Linked DNA regions of Homo sapiens: region 2 is linked to region 1. Evidence: promoter capture Hi-C in human tissues and cell types (Jung and others, 2019). All regions are on one chromosome and are shown on one strand. The core of a region is centred on a gene start or on the middle of the fragment in contact, and the rest is flanking DNA. Distances in the headings are between cores, read along the strand shown.

Evidence for each region. The method cuts DNA at HindIII sites, captures the fragments that hold promoters and counts their contacts. A contact is called where the count stands out against the background at its distance.
Region 2: a fragment that was not itself captured here is called in contact with the fragment with the promoter of ANXA2 in region 1 in 1 of the 25 tissues and cell types used here (aorta).

The regions. Positions count from the first base shown.
Region 1 is chr15:60,394,123-60,400,015 of GRCh38, reverse strand. It overlaps ANXA2 (annexin A2), which reads left to right and starts at 2,030. Exons shown (of 13, transcript NM_004039.3): 1 at 2,030-2,073. RefSeq lists silencers at 1,298-1,607, 1,728-2,267, 2,338-2,477 and enhancers at 2,638-2,827, 2,848-2,897, 2,958-3,007, 2,501-3,092, 3,093-3,684. The HindIII fragment of the contact is 12,062 bases long and covers 1-2,979 here.
Region 2 is chr15:58,926,487-58,932,473 of GRCh38, reverse strand. It overlaps SLTM (SAFB like transcription modulator), which reads left to right. Exons shown (of 21, transcript NM_024755.4): 2 at 31-118. Among named protein-coding and RNA genes, the nearest start is that of SLTM, 4.2 kb to the left of the region's middle. RefSeq lists an enhancer at 4,593-5,092. The HindIII fragment of the contact is 5,846 bases long and covers 1,078-5,987 here.

The DNA of each region.
Region 1 (5,893 bases), core at 781-3,280:
TGATGGCTTTTATATATTCCACATGATTTGAATTAAATTTTATCTTCTGTAAAGGGCCTATCACAGCACGATTAGGAGTAAGAGACTGTGGAACCTATCTTGAGATACACAGAAGGGAGGCTGAATCGTGCCCAATATTACTGTCTGCCTGTGTTCCCCTAACCTTCCAAAATGTTCACACAAAGTAAGCAGATAAACATTGTTTCTGACTTTGAAGCTTTCAGGCTAAATTGAAGAGCTATAAATGTAAATCAGCAATTGTACCCAAAGTGTTGCTTGATTTTCTATTTGGCTCTGTGGTAGGGCCCATCGCGTATAATTCCTCGTGAAAGCGCTGGGTAACAGAAAGCTTTGGGCGGGTTAAAAGACCTCAGCTGTGGCCGACTTTGCCTGTGTCACTCTATGCGAGTGGGCAGAGCACTGAATGTCTGTTGGCCTTGCTATCATTCTCTGATTCCCAGGAGTGAATTGACGCTCAAATGGAAAGTAAAAATGGATGTTAAGATAAATGGGAGATTGAAACACAGAATCATCAAAACCAGGAAAAAGAGCTGCAGGAAGTAGTGTGCAAGGAGGGGTTTAAAAAACGCAGCCAGAGATCCTCGGGATTCTCAGCGTCGCTTTCCTGTTAGTTTGAGGTTCGAATACAGTATTTGCGTCGTCTCACATACAACAAATAGGTGTCTGCCTGCACGTTGCCAACGTGACTCTTGGAAGAAAAGCGAGAAGCAGCAAAACCGAGCAAGGGAGTTGGCTAAACGGCTGCAAGAAACACACACACACACACACACACACACACACACACGGAAGAAAAGCGAGAAACAGCAAAACCGAGCAAGAGAGTTGGCTAAACGGCTGCAAGAAACACACACACACACACACACACACGGAAGAAAAGTGAGAAACAGCAAAACCGAGCAAGGGAGTTGGCTAACTGGCTGCAAGAAACTCTCTATCTCACTCTCTCTCTCTCTCTCTGTGCTGCAAGAAACTCTCTCTCTCTCTCTCTCTCTCTCTCTCTCGGAAGAAAAGCGAGTAACAGCAACACCGAGCAAGGGAGTTGGCTAAACGGCTGCAAGAAACACACACACACACACACACACACCACACACGCACACACACACCCCAGCAGTCATGAAAGAAGGAGAGGAAAGTTCTTTGTTGAAACTCCGGGTTCGAAACACACACACACACACACACACACACACACACACACACACACACACACACACGAAACTCCGGGTTCAAAGCTATGGGCCCCACCCCGCTCAGGACTGCCTGCTACGAGGCCGCGCAGAGATGCCCCAGGCGCGGAGAGAAGCGGAGCACAGCCGTGCTAGGGACAGGGGCGCCACCCTGGGCGGGACTGAGGTGGGATCCTGGCTCCCGGCTTTGGCCTCCCAGCCCAGGCTCGGGGCTTCCTGGCCCTCGGAGGCCGGGGCGGGCCAGGCTTTGCAGCACAGGGCGAATCTCCCTCCCTCCCCGGGCGCCCCCCGGGAACTGGCGGCCAGAGGTTAAGCTGACATGTTTGCAGACGGTAATGGGGCGCTGGATGCCAACAGCCCCAGCTCAGGGGAGTCCAGATTTATGTTTCTTGGAACAATTCTTTCCTCCATTGCATTAACGCCAAAAAAAAAAAAAAAAAAAAAAAAACACTTAATCAAGCCCAGAGTCTACTACTAAAGTCTTGTTAATTTATTAACCCAAGCCGAGGCTGAGAGCTCGACGTGGCACTTAAGAAGTAAAATGAGGAAAGGAGGAAGAAACGGGGTCCCTGTGGGCCTCGGGGCAGCCTCGGCCGGGCTTTCTCGGAGGGCAGGGCCAGGGGCGCTGGGGCCGCTCCCGCGTGGCGCGGCTCGGGAGCGTTCCAGGGCGCGGTCCCTGCGGGCCGGCGGGCCGGGGTGAGTCACCCCTGACTTGGGGTGGGAGCGGGCCGTGTAAGGGGGAGGCGGGGCGGGGCGGGGCGGGCCTCGCCTCGCCTAGGGAGGATGTGGCGGGTATAAAAGCCCCACCCAGGCCAGCCGGCTCTGCTCAGCATTTGGGGACGCTCTCAGCTCTCGGCGCACGGCCCAGGTAAGCGGGGCGCGCCCTGCCCGCCCGCGATGGGCCGCCAGCTAGCGGGGTGTGGAGACGCTGGGAAGAAGGGTACGGCCTGGCAGGGAGGCCCCGGCAACTGGCCCCGGAGGCCGTCGGGGGCAGGGGGCTGAAGGGACGGCCGGCACTGGAGAGTCTTTGGGGAGGGGGCTCAGGGACAAGGTGTTTGGGGCAGGGGTGAGGGGCCACCGGCCCTCGGGCCGGGAGGGTGCAGGGCAGAGGTGGTGGGGGGTCGGGCTTCTCTAAGAAGCCCTAGCGGGAGCGGGGCGAGGCGGCGTGGGGAGAGGGGCGGAGGGAGGCCCCGCATTCCAGACGCGCCAGGCGCCGCCGAGGCAGGGCGTGGCCGCCCAGGGAGCCGCAGGTCCCCGGCGCAGCAGTAGCAAGTGGGCTTTCCACTGCCCTCTAGAAAGTGCCCCCCATCTGCTCTAAGTTACTGTACTCGAAACAAACGCGCGCTTGTGGAGTTGAACCGACCAGCAGGAGGGAAGTAGCGGGGGAAGACGAGAGGGGGGAGTGTGAGTAGGCACCCCTCAGCCCCCCATAAAAGAAGACATTAAAACGTCAGTTATTCCCCTTGCTCTAGGTTATCTTGTAGCATAGCAACTTCGGATTTCACTCTACCCGGAGAGTTTCCCGCTTGGTTGAACACATTGGCCTCAGGAAGGTAGTGTCCCCCATGATTCTGTGGGGAGGGTTGTCCTGTTACTCGCCATGATGTGACAATGAGTCAGGAACTGAGAGTAGAGAGAAGGGCGTGGCCCCGGGGCCTCTCCCTTCTGGCCGCTCTGTGCAGCTGGCCCCACTGCTGGTGTGGAGGGCTTGGGTTCCATCAGCCGGCTGTTGAGAAGAAGGAGGGGAACACAGATAAGTTTCCTCATCTGGGAAGGTGGCTTAAGGATGCCTATTCTTACCACCACCCAGAGTTATTGGAGATTTCAAAAAACACAGTCATTAGGTAATAAATGTGTAAAGTACACAAAAAACAAAGTGCTGTGCAAATGCAAAGTGTCATTTTTGTAGTAAGATTGCCGTTTTAAAGCTGTGGGTGTTCTGAGTGCGTGTGTAAAAGAGCAGTGGCCTCATGGGTGCACGCTGGGCCATTACCAAGAACCTTAAGTTGTTGGTGTGCAAAGGCCTGGGCCCCAGACTGTACTGATGGATTCTGTTCACACGTGTGTGCTACTGTGCCTGTCTGGAACTTGGTGACTTGGAATGCAGAATGCACTTTCCCACTGAAACAGTGTTGCAGAAGGTGCTGACGTTCCCAGGCTAGCCCTGAAAGACCTTTTTAACATGCACTGCCTGATTATGGGATTGGTGGTGGGGAGGTGGAGGGTAGTGAGGGGCAATGTGTGTGTAGGAAGACTAAATCACTGAAATATTTTTCTGGAACTTTTTTTAGCTTTAAGGTTGACACTGAGTAAATTATTTTAATTGGAAAATTATGTCTTTGCCCCTGTTCCACTTTCTTTTTTCCACCTTCCACCTCCTTAGAGACGCTCTTCTGGCTCTTCCGTGACGCATTACAACAGCCATCCAGGCCGGTCCAGTTACGCTGCATTCCTTCCTCCTTCCCATTTCGGCGGACCTGCATCCAGCTAGAGACTAGCAGATTGAATCGATATTCATTAAGTTAGGAATGGTTGGTGGTCCTAAGAGCCTCAGCAACCGAGAGGAGTCTTGTTATTTAAAAAACAACGATACTGGGCGTGGTCGTGGGCCTGTAGTCCCAGCTGCTCAAGCTAGTGGATCTCTTGAGTCCAAGGCCAATGTGAGCAACATAGCAAGACCCAGTCTCAAAAAATAAATACATAATAATAATAAAAAACCCTCGTTCACCTAAACAGATCTATAATTTATAGAATGTAAAGCAGCAATATTCAGGCAATATTAAGGAAGATTTTTGGTAAGACTGGGGCAGCAGAGGTGCCCTTGATGGGCAAGGGCCAGGAGTGTTAACACAGTCCTGCTTAGTAATTTCTTCCCTTCTTCCAAGTCTGTCGATTATCTAAAGGTCAAGGGTTTGTCCAAAAATGTCCCTTGCATCTGCAGTGGAAGGATGTGACATGTATGTGCATTTTTACAATTGGAGGTTTGTGATTTGGAGACCGTTTAGATTTTGTAATTTCCCGCAGTGCCAACTAGACTGCCTGTGGTAAATGCCCAGGAAATATTGCTGACTCACTGACTTTGATTAGGAGCTCAGTCTTGCACTGGAGTCTCAATATTTAGCATCTTGTGTCTTTGAGCTATTAAACTATGGTATTGATTGACATTAGGCTCGCAGTCATGGCCGTTAGTTTCCTGGCTAATTTCTGATTTAAGTAGTTTTCCTGGCAAAGTAGATGTGCTTCTATAATTGCTATTGATTTTGAGGGCTGTAGGCTCTTCCTACACCACTGGGCCTAGAATCTGGCACTAATGCATTGTCTGGAGCCTTTGTTCTCACCCTTCGCTTGTGCAGAGCCTGGAGCCTGCGGAGACATTTTTCATTAAAGGAGAGCGGGATTGTCACAAAAGGAGTCTCAGGCTCTAGTGGGCTGCTTTAAACAACCATTTATTCCACAAAATATTAATTACCTACTGTGTTCCACTCATAGTTATGAGCACTAGGGATACAGCAGTGAACAAAACAGACCCCCGCCAAAAATAAAATCCCTGCTCTTTAGACCTTAAATCTGGCGGAGAGAGAAGGAAAAGAGACAAAATAAGTGAATTGTTGGATTTTAAACTTTATATTTTCCCAAATTAATACTAGTTTCTAAACTTGGTGGGAGTTCATTTCCCCTTTAATCCAGCTGTTCCACAGACCTAAACTTCACATTTTACCTACCTCGGGGAAGTTTTGCTTAAAATTATGGTGTCTTAAGCTGCCTTCCAGATTCAATTGTGAGAATTAAATAGAAATGGAATGTTCCTCTTTTTTTTCACATGAGAATCCTCTTCACTTGCCCTGGTGCCACACCCTATTCTAGTTGTAGGCCACACCAGAGGAAATTCCAGTCCTTCAAAAAAATTCTTTCCACCCATTCACTGCCTGGTATCTTTTTTCTTCTGCTGTTGCCAGAGGCAGTCCTCATCTACTTTCTCCAGGGACAGGTCAGCAGTAGGGGTCAGGAGATGCCCATATTTGTCCTTCTGGGTGGTTCTACCAGATGACTTCCAAATCTCCCTTCTAGGGTACACCCTGAAGCTGTTTTTTTTTTTCTTTTTTTTTTCTTTTGAGATGGAGCCTGGCTCTGTCACCCAGCCTGGAGTGTAGTCGCACGATCTCTCCTCACTGTAGCCTCCGCCTCCCAGGTTCAAGTGATTCTCCAGCCTCACCCTCCCGAGTAGCTGGGATTACAGGTGCCTACCACCATGCCGGGCTAATCTTTGTATTTTTAGTAGAGACAGGGTTTCATCATGTTGGCCAGGCTGGTCTGGAACTGTTGAGCTCAAGTGATCCGCCTGTCTCGGCTTCCCAAACTGCTGGGATTACAGGCGTGAGCCACTATGCCTGGCCCACCCTGAAGCTTTTAATCCAGCTGAGCTCAACTGGACAGGTCGGTAGCACCCAAGTGGCCTGAGTTTTACCCCAGGTGTGGTGTAGAAATTTCTTATTCTAGGGAGTGACTGTGTTATGGAGCCCTTTGTCCATGTCCTTTGTCTCCCTGCCACACCCAGGCTATACACTCACAGCTCAGAGGAAATCAGAGTCCTAAGGCCACTCGTACATCCTGCCTCTTTGCTGCCTTCTTGCTAGGAGTTGTAGGTTACGTTCCCATGTGGTCCTATGGACAGAGCTAGGGTCCAAGTA
Region 2 (5,987 bases), core at 2,751-5,250, 1.5 Mb after region 1:
GTAGCATATTAACTTCTCTTTCTAATGTAGGCTATTGAAGAGGAAGGAGGCGATCCAGATAATATTGAATTAACTGTTTCAACTGATACTCCAAACAAGAAACCAACTAAAGGCAAAGGTTGTTACGAGTTATGAACATGTTTTAAAATATATTTTGGTTATATAACTTGCCTCTGCTCTTGTGCCTCTTGCCCTGTTTATATAGTGCTACTCTTTGCTATTTCCCTCTGGCAGTCTGCCTTCTTGGGTCAAGGAAGAAAAGTTACTGTTGCCAGGCTTTGGGTGACTTGTAGCCCTTAAGATTCGGCTGAAGCTGATTAGAAAGTGAGAACAGTTCTTTATTGCTTCCGGAAAAAATTACAAAGTCAAGTTGTGTAATGATGCTTCATAGTGTGAAGACCTGAATAAAATACAGTTTAACACATGTCTACCTTGCCCCACAATTGGCAGAGTTTTGATGGAATTCCTACCAAATCTTTTACCTTGCCTCCTTGCTGTTTTCTTTAGTATATTAAAATTCTATAACCTTTATGTTTAGTACTTTGTTTGACTTGGTGAACTTAATTTGCATTTATGCCATTATACCTCCTAATTTTTAGTGAAATTCAAAAAGACCTCACCAATCATACTAACAAGGTAGAGGGAAAAATCCATGATTAATTAGCTTAAAAAAGTTTTAAATTATAGGGATGTTAAAGATTCTTATTTTTAACTTTTAAGCTAGAGCAAAATATATTTATTTCTAGGATATAATGATTTAGTGACTAGCTAAAAGTGGTTTTAAATGAACGTTTTGCAGTATGAATGGAACTTAGGTATTTTTTAAAGCTTCTTGGTAAATGAAACCTTTATTTGAATAACTGCAAATTTCTCCCTCCTATAAGGACAGTGGCAGAGGGTGGACATGATATATCTGGATTCTGGTCTTTACCTACAATTTTCATGCAGAGTTTGTCATGAACAGCTGCTGCATTTTTTGTAATCTAATTTTCTTTACTGCTTTAAGTGATCCAAGTGTTACTCCCAACCACTGAATGATTGCAACTAAAATAAAATGAATGGATTAATATTGAAAAGGGAATATTAAATTTTGATCTTAAGCACACCTGGGTATCAGAGATGAGGACAACTCACTATTTTAAGTCTTCCTAGGTTAGGAGAGTCCCCTGTTTGTGCCAAAGGAAATTGAAAAGGGCTAATAAGCATTCCCTGGGAGAGGTGGGGATGTAGTTTAGAGAAGTAAAAAAGTTATCTTAAAGGTAGCTTTTAAGATAACTCTGACTCAGTGTATCACTTTGAGAGATACATTTTCTGTATTTAAAGAAGCTTGTCATGAGAAGACTGCCAACAAACCAGAGGCTATTTCAAAATGGAAAACGATAGAAATTCAGAAATAAGTATATCAGGAATTAACCATGTGTCTTGCAGTAGTTTTGATTCATATCTTTTACCTAGCATGCTGTGCTAGTTTGACAGGTACTGTGTATTAATCATAGTCCCAGGTTGTTTGAGTTGACTATTATTTTAGCATTGAAAATAAACATGATTTATTCCTTTCTCACCTACTTTTAATTTCTCTGTATATCCCTTTTTCAGTTTTGACTAGGAACATCATTTATCTCTTATTATTAGAAATAATTTCAGCAATATAAAATTTTAAGGGTTTTTTCAATACATTTTATGACAGGTATATATATCTATATATATGATATATAGATTATATATAGGTGTATATATATCATATATGATATATATATATATTTTTTAATAGGGTATTGCTCTGTTGCCCAGGCTAGAGTGCAGTGGTGCCTAGCTCTTTGCAGCCTCAAACTCCTGGGCTTAAGTGATCCCTCCCACCTTAGCCTCCCTGGTAGCTGGGACTACAGGCATGTGCCACCACAACATTTTAAATAAGTAAACATTATTTATTTTTATCAGTATGTTTGCTAATTTTTTTCTTTGTATGGGTTATACTTGAACTTTATTCCATAACTCTGATGTTAAGAGGTCTTAAGGTATTCAGTTAGAAGTTGTAACATTTGGGGGCCGGGTGCAGTGGCTCACGCCTGTAATCCCAGCAGTTTGAGAGGCTGAGGCGGGTGGATCACCTGCGGTCGGGAATTCGAGAGCAGCCTGGCCAACATGGCCAAACCCCATCTCTACTAAAAATACAAAAAAAAAAAAAAAAAAAATAGCTGGGCATGGTGGCGCGCGTGCCTGTAGTCCCAGCTACTCGGGAGGCTGGGGAGGCTGAGACAGGAGAATCGCTTGAACCCAGGAGGTGGAGGTTGCAGTGAGCTAAGGTCACTCCACTGCAGTCCAGCATGAGACCCCATCTCAAAAAAAAAAGAAGTTGTAACATTCAATCATTTGTTTGTAGCAGGCCTCATTCTAAGAGATGCATGACAAAAAGCTCTAGTCTTCTTGAAATCCGGCTATCATTGTTATGAAAATCTTGTGAATTACAAAGAATATAATGTAAATCTCCAACTCCAAACAGTTTGAATTAATTTACAATAAAGATGCTTATTGATTCAATTATTTTATTTTTATTATTTTTAATATGAGAGATTTTGAACCCAGTTTACTTATTAAAGAATGCTCTTGTCTCAAATTCCAAGCGCTACTGATCATCTTTAGAGCCAGTTTTGCTTAAATGCGTCATACCAACTCAGTTCTAGCCTTCTAAAATGGCAGAGTTCTAAAATGGCAGAGATGTTTTCTCTGCCATTTTACAAAGTGATAAGATTATTTTAGGCCGGGTGCAGTGGCTCATGCCTATAATCCCAAAAGGCCAAGGTGGGAGGATCGCTTGAGTCCAGTAGTTCAAGACCAGCCTGAGCAACATAGTGAGACCCTATCTCTATTTTAAAAAAGAATTAAGATGTTTAAATAATAACTTTTAGAAACCAAATTTGTATAGGGAAACTTATTAAAATATCAATAATGAACAGATTTGAAAACCAAGGATATATTAAATATTGTTTTAATGTGATGTCCGTTTTTCTTTTCTTTTCTTTTTTTTGAGATGGAGTTTCGCTCTTGTCACCCAGGCTAGAGTGCAATGGTGTGATCTCGGCTCACTGCAACCTCCGCCTCCCGGTTTCAAGCGATTCTCCTGCCTCAGCCTCCCGAGTAGCTGAGATTACAGGCATGCGCCACCACTCCAAACTAATTTTGTATTTTTAGTAGAGACGGGTTTCTCCAGTTGGTCAGGCTTGTCTTGAACTCCCAACCTCAGGTAATCCTCCCGCCTCGGCCTCCCAAAGTGAGCCACCGCACCTGGCTGATAATCAGTTTTTCAATCAAGTTGCTGAATTACTACATTCAATTCTTTTTGCCAGATCTTGTTTTACTTACTGGTATCTACATTGAAAATAATTTCATCTTGGTTATGCCACTTTTCCTTCAGTGCGCCTGTTTTCTCTTTTGTAAAACTGGAAATTTTACTAGGTCCCCTGTAAGGCTCTTTTAGTTCTGAAATTTAATAATTATATAGACAAAAATGAGAAGAAAATGCTTTCTGTTTAACTAAAATGATGTTTAAGGAAGCAACAGGTAAGCTCATAGGAAATCAGTATCGTTTTTCTTCAGCACAAATTATTAGAAAACGAAAAGTGCCAAGAAGGGGATTACGTAGAGGTAATTATGTAGACATCAGCGAGACATAATATATAATAGCTGGTCAGGAAAAGAAATGATTCTTATGACAATATTAAGGTAGTGAATAAAAGTTAAATGACGAGAAGCTTCATAGGTATGGAAAAAATACTTTGGTGAAACATTGAGCTTATTCTTTTATAAAATAACTATAGGGTAACTTTCTTTTAAAAATGTATGTTAAAATGATTCTATTTAGAGAGGTTAGAGGGAAAGGAACCTACATTTTTAAGTTTCTCCTAGAATATTTTTTAAATGCAGCTATTACAAGCACAAACAATGTTGATAATGTTATAGTGGGCTCTGACATTTATATCAACATATTTATAAAATTCCTTTACATGTAGTTAATAGAGTAGATGTTTGTATCTTAGAATGGCTTTCCTGAGTCTTCACACTCTCTTTGTTATGAACTTTTAAATAAGTAACTTAGGAGAAAGCTTCACCCATTGAAGTTTACGGTTATATTAATTGGGTGTGTGTTTAAAAAGTAGTTAAACAGGTAGAGCTAACTTCTCATTAGGTTGTTTTAGAGATTATAGATTTAAAGACTTTTGGTTTACCTGATGCTGGCATATCCTTTTCTTTTAAAATTTCAACCTTTAAAGTCACCAATTAACTTCAGCAAAAGTGATGTGGTTAATCAGTACAGTATTTAGAACTATATGTAATGCAATACTTACCGACATTAAAACTAATTTGCAATACCTGGCAGCTTTAAAAAGACTAAAAATGATGTGTACAATCTGATTTTTCTTCTATAGAAACAAATATATTTTGAGGTTATAGGTTTGGCCAAACATCTAATGTATAATTTTTTGTGGAAAATACCACAGACTACATATTTATAATTAAGTACATGTTTACTCTGTAAAGCTTTCTAAAACTGGTATCAATTAAATGTAGTAATCAGCCATATAAAGCACATTTCATATAACACAGTATCATAGTGTACTGTAATTAGCTTTTTTCCTCCAGCTGTAGTATGTTCAGATGTTAAGTAACACTTTAATCAGAACTGTGGCATTGAGGAGGACTTTGGGCGTATAATTGTTATAGATATTTCTTAGGTACCTGAAAGGCTGAAAGCTCTGAAGGCCAGGACATAGTTTTTCATTTACCTCTGTCTCTGTAATGCCTGGTGTAGAGCATGGCACGTAATAAGTGCTCAAAAAATATTTGTTGAATGAATACTGAGGGCCTTTTTGGGGCTTTCTTAACTGCTTTTAGAAATACCTCTTTTGGGCCAGGCGCATGGCTCACGCCTGTAATCCCAGTACTTTGGGAAGCTGAGGTGGGCGGATCACCTGATGTCAGGAGTTTGAGACCAGACTGGCTAACATGGTGAAACCCCGTTTTTACTAAAAATACAAAAAATTAGCTGGGCATGGTGTTTCGCATCTGTAATCCTCGCTACTTGGGAGGCCGAGGCAGGAGAATCTCTTGAACCTGGGAGGCAGAGGTTGCAGTGAGCTGAGATTGCGCCATTGCACTCCAGCTTGGGCAACAAGATCATCATCTTTAGATAATCTGTTCATCTTTAGAAACTTGGTCTCAAAAAACAGAAAACAAACAAAAAAAAGAAATATCTCTTTTGGTGCCTATTTTAATTGCATATTTCTTTGTAAGAAGCAGGTATATCAGGGATTAATAGTTTTTATCTTTTTTTTAAAGGTGCCTCTCTCAAGAGCATAATGGCTTCTCCTTACACATTGATATGTAAAATATACTTACTTTTAGAACACATGAATCATTGCATCATCCTTTTATTCTTTACCACATTGATGCTGTGTTGAAAAGCCTCTGAACCTTGCTGGAATACTGTCCAACCTCAGAGGTTGTATATGTCATTTTCATTTCACAAAATTAGCCCTTTTATCGCAGCCATTAAAACATACATTTGGCCAGGCGCGGTGGCTCACACCTATAATCTCAGCACTTTGGGAGGCCGAGGTGGGTGGATCACAAGGTCAGGAGTTCGAGACTAGCCTGGCCAACATGGTGAAACCCCCTCTCTACTAAAAATACAAAAATTAGCCAGGTGTGGTAGCATGTTCTGTAATCCCAGCTACTCTGGAGGCTCAGGCAGGAGAATCACTTGAACTTGGGAGGAGGAGGTTGCAGTGAGCCGAAATGGTGCTGCTGCACTCCAGCCTGGGTGACAGAACAAGACCCTGACTCAAAGAAAAAAAAAAAAAAAGGTAATCCAGAAAAGTACAAAAAAGTGAAGATTACCCGTAATCCCACCACCCTGAATTTATCATATGTAGCATTTTACATATGATATATATACATGTTTATAATTAAGTACATGTTTACTCTGTAAA